3 separate regions of the Homo sapiens genome follow, and regions 1 and 2 are each linked to region 3. The links are contacts of gene promoters, found by promoter capture Hi-C in blood cells and fetal thymus (Javierre and others, 2016). All regions are on one chromosome and are shown on one strand. Each heading gives the region's core, a stretch centred on a gene start or on the middle of the fragment in contact. The rest is flanking DNA. Distances are from core to core; before and after follow the strand shown.

Evidence for each region. Contacts are between HindIII fragments. The CHiCAGO score rates a contact against its expected background, and 5 or more counts as called.
Region 1: a fragment that was not itself captured here is called in contact with the fragment with the promoter of DYNC1H1 in region 3 in 3 of 17 cell types (fetal thymus, naive CD8 T cells and total CD4 T cells); the score reaches 7.3 in fetal thymus.
Region 2: a fragment that was not itself captured here is called in contact with the fragment with the promoter of DYNC1H1 in region 3 in 1 of 17 cell types (fetal thymus); the score reaches 7.3 in fetal thymus.

What each region holds. Positions count from the first base shown.
Region 1 is chr14:102,515,486-102,519,271 of GRCh38, forward strand. LOC105370680 (a long non-coding RNA gene) reads left to right here and starts at 1,982. Exons shown (of 4, transcript XR_944239.2): 1 at 1,982-2,225. RefSeq lists silencers at 1,321-1,370, 1,391-1,600 and an enhancer at 2,091-2,210. The HindIII fragment of the contact is 3,153 bases long and covers 947-3,786 here.
Region 2 is chr14:102,592,736-102,596,471 of GRCh38, forward strand. RCOR1 (REST corepressor 1) reads left to right here. Exons shown (of 12, transcript NM_015156.4): 1 at 1-452; 2 at 531-590. The coding sequence starts at 152. Among named protein-coding and RNA genes, the nearest start is that of RCOR1, 2.0 kb to the left of the region's middle. RefSeq lists silencers at 1-220, 281-890. The HindIII fragment of the contact is 855 bases long and covers 1,270-2,124 here.
Region 3 is chr14:101,962,672-101,966,397 of GRCh38, forward strand. It overlaps DYNC1H1 (dynein cytoplasmic 1 heavy chain 1), which reads left to right and starts at 1,902. Exons shown (of 78, transcript NM_001376.5): 1 at 1,902-2,276. The coding sequence starts at 2,021. RefSeq lists enhancers at 1,455-1,594, 1,639-2,249, 2,250-2,859 and silencers at 1,735-1,894, 2,385-2,594. The HindIII fragment of the contact is 2,903 bases long and covers 522-3,424 here.

The DNA.
Region 1 (3,786 bases), core at 1,273-3,772, 550 kb after region 3:
CTTGCTCTGTTGCCCAGGCTGGAGTGCAGTGGTGCAATCATAGCTCACTGCAGCCTCACTCTCCTGGGCTCAAGTGATCCTCTCACCTCAGCCTCCCAGGTAGCTGGGACTATAGGCACATGGCCACCACACACAAAAAATAAATTTTTTAATTTTTATTTTTGTAGACATGACACCAGGTCTTGCTATGTTGCTCAGGCTGGTCTTGAACTCCTGAGCTTAAGCGATCCTCCTGCCTCAACCTCCCAAAGTGCTGGAATTACAGGTGTGAGCCACCTCAACTGACTTAATTATTTAATGTTTCATAAAATAATTTAGCAGCCGGGGGCAGTGGCTCACACCTGGAATCCCAGCACTTCGGTAGGCTGAGACAGGCAGGTCACCTGAGGTCAGGAGTTTGAGACCAGCCTGGCCAACATGGTGAAACCCCGTCTTTACTAAAAATACAAAAAAAAATTAGCCAGGCATGGTGGTGGGCACCTGTAATCCCAGCTACTCGGGAGGCTGAAGCAGGAGAATCACCTGCACCCGGGAGGCAGAGGTTGCAGTGAGCCGAGATGGCGCCACTGCACTCCAGCCTGGGTGACAGAACGAGACTCCATCTCAAAAAAAAAAAAAAAAAAAAAAAGAATTTAGCTGAATTTTGTATTTTCTTTCTTTCTTTTTTTTTTTTTGAGACGGAGTCGCCCAGGCTGGAAGCTCTGCCTCCCCGGGTCACGCCATTCTCCTGCCTCAGCCTCCCGAGTAGCTGGGACTACAGGCGCCCGCCACCACGCCCGGCTAATTTTTTTTGTATTTTTAGTAGAGACGGGGTTTCACCATGTTAACCAGGATGGTCTCGATCTCCTGACCTCGTGATCCGCCCGCCTAGGCCTCCCAAAGTGCTGGGATTACAGGCGTGAGCCACCGCGCCCAGCCTTATATTTCATGTCTATTTCATTATTAAAGCTTTGAAGAGAATACAAGTGCATACCAAGTACTAGGGAGATAGAGTCACTGCTGCATCTTTAATAAGGAAAACCTGGAAACTACCTAGGTGACCATCAGAAGGGGTATGGCTGACATGGTCATGGCGAAGCCTGCTGTGACTTTGCTGCAGCTTGAAGAGCAGTGAGTCAGAAGGGGCAACGGAGACCGGAGGGCCTGGCCCGGCCCAGGTCGCACAGTGCAGGGCAGTCCCAAGGGTGACAGCGGCCAGTGCGCGGGCGCGCCCTCTACCCACATGCCCCGACCCGCCGGGTCCCTGCGTCCGCAAGATCACTTTCCGGGCCCGAGGCGGGGAAGGGGCCGGGACATGGGTTGGGGACTGAGCGCCGCTGAACTGCGCCATGGTCGGAGAGAGTTTGCAGGGGCGGAGGTGTTCCCTGGTCGGACCCTGCCGACCGCCCTCGGGGAGAGGCGAGGCCCTGGCCCGTGACGGCTGGGTCCGGGCCTCAGTATCCCCATCCGCTCAGGGGAAAGCGGGCGGCAGCCCGGAGCCCGACCCCAGCGCCCAGCGCGGCCCGACACCGCCCCCTGGCGGCCGCGGACGTCACTGCGACCCGCAGCCTCCGCCGAAGCCGGGCGAGGGACCCCCGACCCGGGCGCACCAGGCTGCGGGTGCGGGGGCGGGGACGCCCAGCGCCCTGGCCCCGGGGGCGGGGTTCGCGGGCTGAGTGCCCACTCCGCTCTCCCCTCGCCCCGCGGCCTCGGCGGGCCCCCCGCCCACCAGGGTCTCCACCTCCCCCCGGGTGAAATGGCCACAGTCCCGCCATCCGCGCCGCCGCCACTGCGCCTGCCCCCGGCTGGGCCGATCGGAGGTCCCGGCGGGGCGGGCGAGGCAGGTGGTCCGGCGGGCCCCTTCCGGGTTCCCCTCCCCCAGCCGGAGTCCGCGGACCGCGCTGGGCGCAGGGAGGGGGCTGTGCGCGCCTCCGCTTCCCGGCCTTCCCAGCGGGGACGAGCGCCGACCCCCGCCCAGTCGGGAGACGCCCTCAAGGTCCCAGGCTCTGCTTCTGCCCGCCCGCGGCCCGCGGACTGCGGGTGACAGGGTCCCCGGTCCGAGCCCCATCTCCCTAGGAGAGCGGACCCCAGCGCTCCTGTACCCTCCACCTGGTGGCCGTCCACGCAGCCCGGCCTGCTCGCGCGTCCCAACTGCCACTTCCCTTGCCTTCCCCAGCCGCACGTCTACCAGGCTCCTGTGTGTCTGCCTGGCTGGGACTTCCGCATACTCCAGGCCCACTTTACAGGTGCAGATGCTGAGGCCAGAGCGCCTCAGGAGCTGGATGCAGGGGAGAGCGTGCGGGCAGTGTGGGGAGAGACTCGGCCTAGCCTTCCATTGCAGCTCCTATCCCTGCTGCGCCACCCCCTCGGCCTGTCATCTGTCCCCATCCAGGAACCCCCAGGACACTGTCAGCAGAGCCCACTGAGGGTCCAGTGCTGTCCAGGTGGCGGCATCAGGATTCCCAGGAGCCAGCCCTCACTATGCCACCCTATGTCCGTATGTCCAGCAGGGATCTGAGGGCCTGGAGGGGTGCGGAGGCCCTGCCAGGAGATGCTTTCCTCAGTGCCCATTGTGAAGGGAGCAGAGGGCTGAACTGGAAGGGGCTTCCTGGCCCCAGGAGGGCAGTGATTAGGTAAACTGCCCACCCTTCAAAAGTGATGGACAGGAAGGGGAAAGGTGGAGGGTGGAGGAGCTGCAGGTTATGCCGGTGACCCCTGAGAGACAAGGAGATCTCCACAGTGTATCAGTTCTCTTCTGCTGTGCAACAAACAACCCTGCCAGGGTGGCTTTAAACAGCAATGATGTAGGATTGTTTGCGGTTCTCTGGATTGACTGGATGGCTCTTTTGCTTCCTGTGGCGCCCGCTGGGATCACTCTACAGCTGTAGGGATCTGGAGGCCCAACTGGAGTGAAATGTCCAAGTGGTTCATCCACATGGCTACAGTTGGTGCTGGTTGCCAGTGGGAGCTCGGCTGCCTCCAGCATGGGCTGCCACCCTGCTTCGGTGCTCCTTTGCTTGGCTTCTCCACGTGGCTAACTTGGTCTTCCTCACAGCATGGCAGGACAAGCCCCAGTGTGCAAGAGCTCATTAAACCTCTGCTTCCATCATGCTTTCTAATACCTCATTCTCCAAGACAAGCCCAGAGTTCACGTGGAATGAGACTCACAAAGGCATGAATCTCAGGAAGCCTGGTTTATTATTATGGGCATCACAGCTTAGCACAATGATGGGGAAGCAGTGGGGACAGATCGTAGACAGCAGACCTTCCAGGGCCAGAACAAGCAGGGAAGGCTCCTGGAGGAGGATGGGACTGGCTAAGGAGGGGCTGGGAACTCTCTTCCTTCTCCCTGAAGCTCCAAATCCTCAGGGCCTGGGGAGGTTGGAGGAGCACCAACCACTAAATCAAGATACAAACGCTCAAGGCTCAAACTCCTGAACTCAAGGCGGATCACCTGAGTTCAGGAGTTTGAGACCAGCCTGGGAAATATAGTGAGACCTCATCTCTACAAAAAATAAAAATAAAAAAGTTAGCCGGGCGTGGCCAGGCGCGGTGGCTCATGCCTGTAATCCCAGCACCTTGGAAGCCCAAGACAGGCAGATTGCCTGAGGTTAGGAGTTTGAGACCAGCCTGGCCAACGTGGTGAAACCCCATCTCTGCAAAAAATACAAAAAAAAAAAATTAGCTGGGCTTGATAGCAGGTGCCTGTAATCCCAGCTACTCGGGAGGCTGGGGCAGGAGAATTGCTTGAACCCGGGAGGCAGAGGTTGCAGTGAGCCGAGATGGTGCCATTGCACTCCAGCCTGA
Region 2 (3,736 bases), core at 447-2,946, 630 kb after region 3:
TTTGGGCCTCCCCCGACTCGGACTCGCGCCCGTGGGCTCCCGCCGCGCCCGCCCGGCCCCGCGCCGGCCCCGCGCCCCCTCCCCCGTCTCGGCGCCCCCTCCTCAGGAGCCGCGGGTCCCCGCCACTTTCGCACGGCCCCGGCCCCCGCCGATGCCGGCCATGGTGGAGAAGGGCCCCGAGGTCTCAGGGAAGCGGAGAGGGAGGAACAACGCGGCCGCCTCCGCCTCCGCCGCCGCCGCCTCCGCCGCCGCCTCGGCCGCCTGCGCCTCGCCAGCCGCCACTGCCGCCTCGGGCGCCGCCGCCTCCTCAGCCTCGGCCGCCGCCGCCTCAGCCGCCGCCGCCCCCAATAATGGCCAGAATAAAAGTTTGGCGGCGGCGGCGCCCAATGGCAACAGCAGCAGCAACTCCTGGGAGGAAGGCAGCTCGGGCTCGTCCAGCGACGAGGAGCACGGTAGGTGGCAGCCGCCCCCGCGGCCCCGGGCCCCGCGCCCCGCGCCGCGCTGACCGCCGTATTCTGCTTCCCCCGCAGGTGGCGGTGGCATGAGGGTCGGACCCCAGTACCAGGCGGTGGTGCCCGACTTCGACCCCGGTGAGTAGCGGCCCCGGCCGGCCGGCGGCGGGGATGAGCGGGAGCCCCGGGTCCCCGGCGAGCCCGAGGGGGCGGGAGCCCGCCGACAACTTTCTTTTTGTGCGTTCGCCCTGCCGTCCGTGGGGAGAACAGCAGGGCGAGGACGAGGAGGCGCACACGCACACGAGTGTTCTGCAAACGTGCCTCTGCACCCGGGGGAGGCCAGGTCGCCCCCAGCAGGGCCGGCGCCGCTGCCCCCTTGCGCCTCCGAGGACTGCGGGTGGCGTCGGAGGTGGCCACACCTGGCCTGGGGGCGCTGGGGGTCCCTGCGTCCAGGTGAGCTGCGCCTCGGCCAGGGGTAAGGGTGGCAGTGCCGGAGAGTTAGTGTCCTGCGAGCGCCCCGGACTTAGGAGGTCCCCAGAGACCCCTTTCTCGGAACCCTTCCCAAAGGCTGCTCCCCACGCCTTTGCTCCTCCTCTCAGCCTCTGGGCTCTTGCTGGCTCCTGACTGCCCTCCCATCCAGAAGGCGAGTAGAAGAACGACCCCCCAAAACCAGTCAATAAAAGAAGTGTGTTTTCCAGAGGGCGCCTGCCTGGGGAAGAGAGTCTCGCGTGTGGCAGTTGGATTTTAGGACCTATTTGTAAATGTGTGTATTTCCTTTTTTTTGGAGGAAGAGATTGTGAAATTGAGAAGCATCAGAAGCTTTAGCCTAACAAATGCTTTTCACCTACAAGAAAGCCCTACACCCTAGAATGGAACACTTAGTTCCCTGGCTGCTATTCTGTGTAGAAGCAAATTTAAAGTGGTACAAGAAAAAAAATCCGATCAGACAAAGGAATTCGTCAGATTTTAATGCATGAGATTCTAGCCAGTGTCTGTATGAGACTGTCTTTAAAGGTTGTTGGTATGGAAAATGTTTGAAAGAACGTAGGATTTATTTCAGAAATAAAATTCAAAAGAGCATCTTGTAAAGCTGGAGTTAACAATCCTCCATGGTTGGAGGGCTTTAGAGCTGGGGTTCTGTATGTGGGTTATACCACTAGTTTATTTGAAAAGATAAACGCATACATGTTTTTTCCTTGGAAACAAGACTGCAGAAAATTGCAATGATCTAGTCCTTGAAAAAGGCGATTGCTCTCAAGCTGTTATTAAGGTACTAAACTGCACTTTGAAGTGAAAATACATAGAGGTCCTAGGTGAGCTCTTGGACACTCTGGAAATAAATGACTTCCTAAATTGGCCTTCTAAATTTTGATTTGTTGACGTAAATCTGTTAAATTTATTTGTCTAATACTCGCGTTTGTGTTTCTTTTAAGTCCATGTTAGTGTTTTTGATAGTTTCCTCTTCTCCCCAATTCTTTTTTTTTTTTTTGGTAGTCACTTCTCGTTTATGAGTGACAGGATAGAACTAGGTGGCCAGGCTATATCTCTTGTATGCTTGGCTCCTCCGTTCCTTGGTTGGCCACCAGGGGAAGCATACTGTTTTTTGGTTACAGTTGACCCTGTCTTCATTTTGTAGGTCAAGTCTATCTTTGCTTTAAAACACAGAACATAAAGCTTGTTACCAAATTTTCCTAATGTATTATTTTTAAAAATCGACTTCCACAAATCTTTGAGTAAGTTGGTAGGCTTTTTGATACATTTTTGTTAACATAAATTTTGAAAACTTTATGTAGATGTGTTGGATGTGACTAAGGAAAAGGGCATATTTGTCAACAACAGGAATTAGATTTCTGACATTCATCGAAATATTGACATCAGCTCTGCATTGTTAGTAATGAGTTTGACTTCTTTGGAGTTATACTTTTCTTTGAAACAGCAAATATAATATTTTGAACTGTCTTTGGGCTTTTTGTTGGAATAGATATGAGCATAAACTTGCTAGTGACCAGCTATTCTAAAATGGAAAACATTTATCAGATTGCAGTAGCTCACACCTGTAGTCCCAACACTTGGGGAGGCCAAGGCTGGAGGATCTCTGGAGCTCAGGAGTTGGAGACCAGCCTGGGCAATGTAGTCAGACTCTGTCTCAACAAAAAATAAAAAAATTAGCTGGGCATGGTGGCATGTGCCTGTAGTTTCAGCTACGGGGGGGTCTGAGGCTGGAGGATCTCTGGGAAGTCAAGGCTGCAGTGAGCAGTGATCTGGCCATTGCACTCCAGCCTGGGTGACAGAGTGAGACCCTGTCTCAGAAATAAAAAGGAAAACATCTAACTGTTTTGCTGCATAGTCTTGCTGCCAATTGGTTGAGTATTGATATTAAAATTTCCAAATTTCTTTTTTTTTTTTTTGAGACGGAGTCTTGCTCTGTCCCTCAGGCTGGAGTGCGCAGTGGTGTGATCTCAGCTCACTGCAAGCTCCGCCTCCCAGGTTCACGCCATTCTCCTGCCTCAGCCTCCAGAGTAGCAGGGACTACAGGCGCCCACCAACACTCCTGGCTAATTTTTTGTATTTTTAGTGGAGACGGGGTTTCACCGTGTCAGCCAGGATGGTCTTGATCTCCTGACCTCGTGATCCGCCCGTCTCGGCCTCTCATAGTGCTGGGATTACAGGCATGTGCCACCGCGCCCGGCCCCAAATTTCTTTATTTTGTGTTTGTTTTAATCTGGAAAGGAATCTAACTGGTGTAAAGTAATTTCAAACCTTGTTTTGCCAACCTAAGCAGGGGGACACAGTTTTCTAGATATGGCAGAAAATTGAGACTTTACTATTTCCTAGTGGTTTTTTATGTGTCTTTTCATTTAACTTAAAAGCTTAAGGGGAAGGAAGGCTTCCATTTTGGAATAGAAATGATACAACATTTTTTTTTTTTTTAATACGGAGTTTCACTCTTGTTGCCCACGCTGGAGTGCAATGGCGTGATCTGGGCTCACCGCAACCTCTGCCTCCTGGGTTCAAGCAATTTTCCTGCCTCATCCTCCTAAGTAGCTGGGATTACAGGCATGCGCCACCATGCCTGGCTAATTTTTTGTATTTATAGTAGAGACAGGGTTTCTCCATGTTGATCAGGCTGGTCTGGAACTCCTGAACGCAGGTGATCCACCCACCTCAGCCTTCCAAATTACTGGGATTACAGGGGTGAGCCACCGTGCCCAGCCAACTGATGTTTGTTTTATAGCAAAATTCTTTCTTAGCTGTTTAAGACTTAAGACAGGTTCTTTCCATGA
Region 3 (3,726 bases), core at 652-3,151:
GTTGCAGATGTTTGAGTCCCTTGGATCCCTGAGTGGCTGCGTCTCCCAGTCTGGTGCTGACTCATGGTGCAGCCAGCATGCAGCCTGCCCATCGGCCAGGTCCCTGCAGGTTTCTGAGTCTCAGATGGTGGATGGCCTATTCAGAGTTCACAGATCTGCACCTAATAGACTTTCCTCTTTGTCCCTCTTTCTACCCCTAAAGTACATGTGAGGGGAAACCCTCTGCATGGTGCCTAGCACGCAGTGAACACTCAGCGTTCGCTGTCAGTGGTGTGTTATTATTATTCATTACCATTAGGATCCTTGCACAAACTCATCGCAGTTGCCTATTTATTTTTTCCAGGAAGATTACTCGGAACTGCTTAGGCACATCACACCAGGGCGGACTGATGGAGAGCAGGAAGATGGGGTATTCATCTGTCCCCTCTTCCACATGCTCCTTAAAGACAAGAATCATCTGATTAGTCTCCGTGTTCCAGCAACCCCCTGGGACCCAGCAACCGGTAATTAGGCAAGGAATAAGCTTATTGTATGTTTCACAGTTTTTCAAAGATGATTTGGGAGAATCAAATCATACCATCATCATTCCACCAATCAGGACTCGGCACTCTGACAGTGCACTTTGATGTTTAAAAAAAACAAAAAAACCAAAAAAAAAAAAAACGCCATTGGCTTCCCTCTCTCCACCCAACTTAAGAAAGAAGTTATGAATGTGAACTTTCAAAGGCCAATTACTACCCCTTAGAAGAACCTACCATCTCTAAACTACAAAGATGGGCAGCCTGGATTCTATTATTTTTATTATTTTACAAAATTCTTAATTTTTAAATACACATAGATATAGGGTCTCGCTAGGTTGACCAGGCTGGTCTTGGAACTTCTGGCCTCAAGCAATCCTCCCATCTCAGCCTCTCAAAATGCTAGGATTACAGGTGTGAGCCACCGCACCCAGCTGGGCAGCCTGGATTCTGGCTCTTATGTAGTCATGGTGTAGGGGAGGAGGTCGTGGTGGGTCCGAACTAGGGGGAAACTTGGTGGGCAGGCAACCCAGCCCCTGCCTTGTACGGACCCAGATACTGAGGCCCACAGAATGACAGTGCCAGCTCTAGGGGGCTGGAGGAGAGCCATTGCTGGAGGTAGCTGTTCTCAGTAGGTCTCCCTCTTGGTCCTCACAGCGTCCTCGGGGACAATGATTTTTGTCATTAGGAACCAGATCCCATCACAGCTTGGCTTTACGTACAGTGAAGGTGTCATTCCTGGCTTAACCTTACACTGCCCCGAAGGCCCCCTCCCCAGCTGTCCGTTTCCAGCCTGGCAATGGGACTCTCTGAGCACGCCCCTCATCTCCTCCCCCTCTGAAAAGTATCCTCAATCTCCCGGTCTATATCTAATAACACATCTGTCGTGCCTATATTTTGGTACCTGATACGTAGTCATTCATTCATTCAATGAGAGAACATTTAATGAGAGGTTAAGGGGCTTAGAACAACGCCGGGCACAGGCTAAGCGCTCACTAAACGTTAGCTCTCGCCAATAACATCACTGATTCACTATAAAGTTTCTCTGGCTGTGTGCTATTCGCTGCGTCCACAGCAGTGAAGAAGACAGACGCAGCCCCTGACCAACCTCGCCAAGCCCGGGCGCCGAGCCAGGACGTTGAGCCAAGTCCCCATCTCCTAGGACTCGCAGTGCGGAGGCTGCGGGCCCCGACCAGCGCCGAGACTACAAGTCCCAGAAGGGCGCGCGGCGACATCGCCGGGCCCGCCCCCCGCGCACGCGCGGCGCCGTGACGCTAAGGCCGCGAGCGAGCGCGGGTGGCTGCGGCGGCTGCGGCCGGCGGGGCGGGGCGGGGCCACCTGGCAGTGGCTGCCTTTAGGGCGGAGCCGGCTCCCGCTCTCCTCAGTCTGCGGTGGGCTAGCGGACGGTCCGGCTTCCGGCGGCCGTTTCTGTCTCTTGCTGGCTGTCTCGCTGAGTCGCGGCCGCCTTCTCATCGCTCCTGGAAGGTCCCGAGCGCGACACCATGTCGGAGCCCGGGGGCGGCGGCGGCGAGGACGGCTCGGCCGGATTGGAAGTGTCGGCCGTGCAGAATGTGGCGGACGTGTCGGTGCTGCAGAAGCACCTGCGCAAGCTGGTGCCGCTGCTGCTGGAGGACGGCGGCGAGGCGCCGGCCGCGCTGGAGGCGGCGCTGGAGGAGAAGAGCGCCCTGGAGCAGATGCGCAAGTTCCTTTCGGACCCGCAGGTCCACACGGTGCTGGTGGAGCGCTCCACGCTCAAAGGTGCGGGGCCGCGGAGGGCAGGGTCGCCAGAGCCAGGCCTCGCGGAATGCAGGGCCTGCCAGGTCCTCCGGGGTCGCAGATGTCCCCGGGATGGGAGGAGCCCGGCAGCTGCAGATGACCCCTGGATGGGCAGAGCCCGGCGGCCGCAGACGTCCCGCCGGCCGGGTCCCCAGGGCCGCAGACGCCCCGCAGAGGCCGGCGCGGCGCCCGGGGCTCGCCCTCGCCACACCCACTGCCCGGCCCGGAGCCCCCAGGGCGCCCCGCTCCTGGTCGCGGGGAGGGGAAAGGGGTCCCCGTCTGCCGTCACCCAAAACAATGGGGTCGCTTTGTCTGCTCGGGCCTCTCAAGATGGCCGAGTTGGGTGGAGACAGCGTCTCCCTGGGCTGAGAGCGGGCGAGGCCGCATCCCTGCCTCCAGTGTCACATGAGCTTTTCGGTTTCGATTTGTGTCCAAGCCAAGTGGCCTTCGGGAGGGATGTGTCGGGGGCAGACCCGCGGAGCTGGGGGCAGCCGGGGTTCTGGTTCGGGAGGAGGTCGGGCGGGTGTCCCAGCCCTGCCTTGTGGGGACCCAGAGGCCGAGGCCCACAGAGCGACGGTGCCAGCCCCGGGCCTGCGAGCATCACTGTTGTAGGTGGATGCTCTCACAGCATCCTTGCTGAACGGGTGTATCCTGATTTTACACCTGAGGAAACTGAGGCTCAGGTTAAGTGATTTCACCCAAGGTCACCAGCTAATCTTAGTCCTGAGACTAGACTCAGTGTCTCAGCTCCCCATCCACTGCTTGTTTTCACTGATCATACCTCATATTTGTTTAATGCTTCGATGATGTTAATGATAACCCTGTAATATTTGAGTCTAATTTTACAGATTAAAAAAAAAAAAAAAGATTCAGGTTAGGCACCTAGTAGGGGGAAGAGGCTAGAGTTAGCGTGTTCCAGCTGTCTCCTCAAATAATGATCGCCCACCAGCAAGGTTACATTCATCTAAGTCTGGGGCTTGCCTGCAGGCAGGCTTTCTCATGGATTCATTACAACCACTTTGTAGCCCATTACAACCACTTTGGGTGTGGCGTGTCCATCTAAGAACCTAAGGATGATGTCCAAGGTTAGCCTCTAGGGATTGGAGATTGTCTAAAAATATTTGCCAACAAGCTTCTTAAAATTTCAAAAAACTGTATGGTTCTCTCAGTGAGAGACCCTGTACTGTCTGCCCCATCCTTAACACACACTGTGTTTCTGATGGTTTGTTTCTTTCAAAGGCTATTCTTACTCAGAAGATGCTTCCCTGTAGCCTTGGTTTCCTGCCAGAGATTAGCAGGGTGTAAAAGAATATTTTTTTCTTATATCCACGTGGAATGTTCAAGGCAAATAAACCATTTGAGCATATTTAGAGTATTAATGTTTTTGAGGGTTGTTTACTGTGATGTTTGGGATTATGTATTCCTAAGTGGA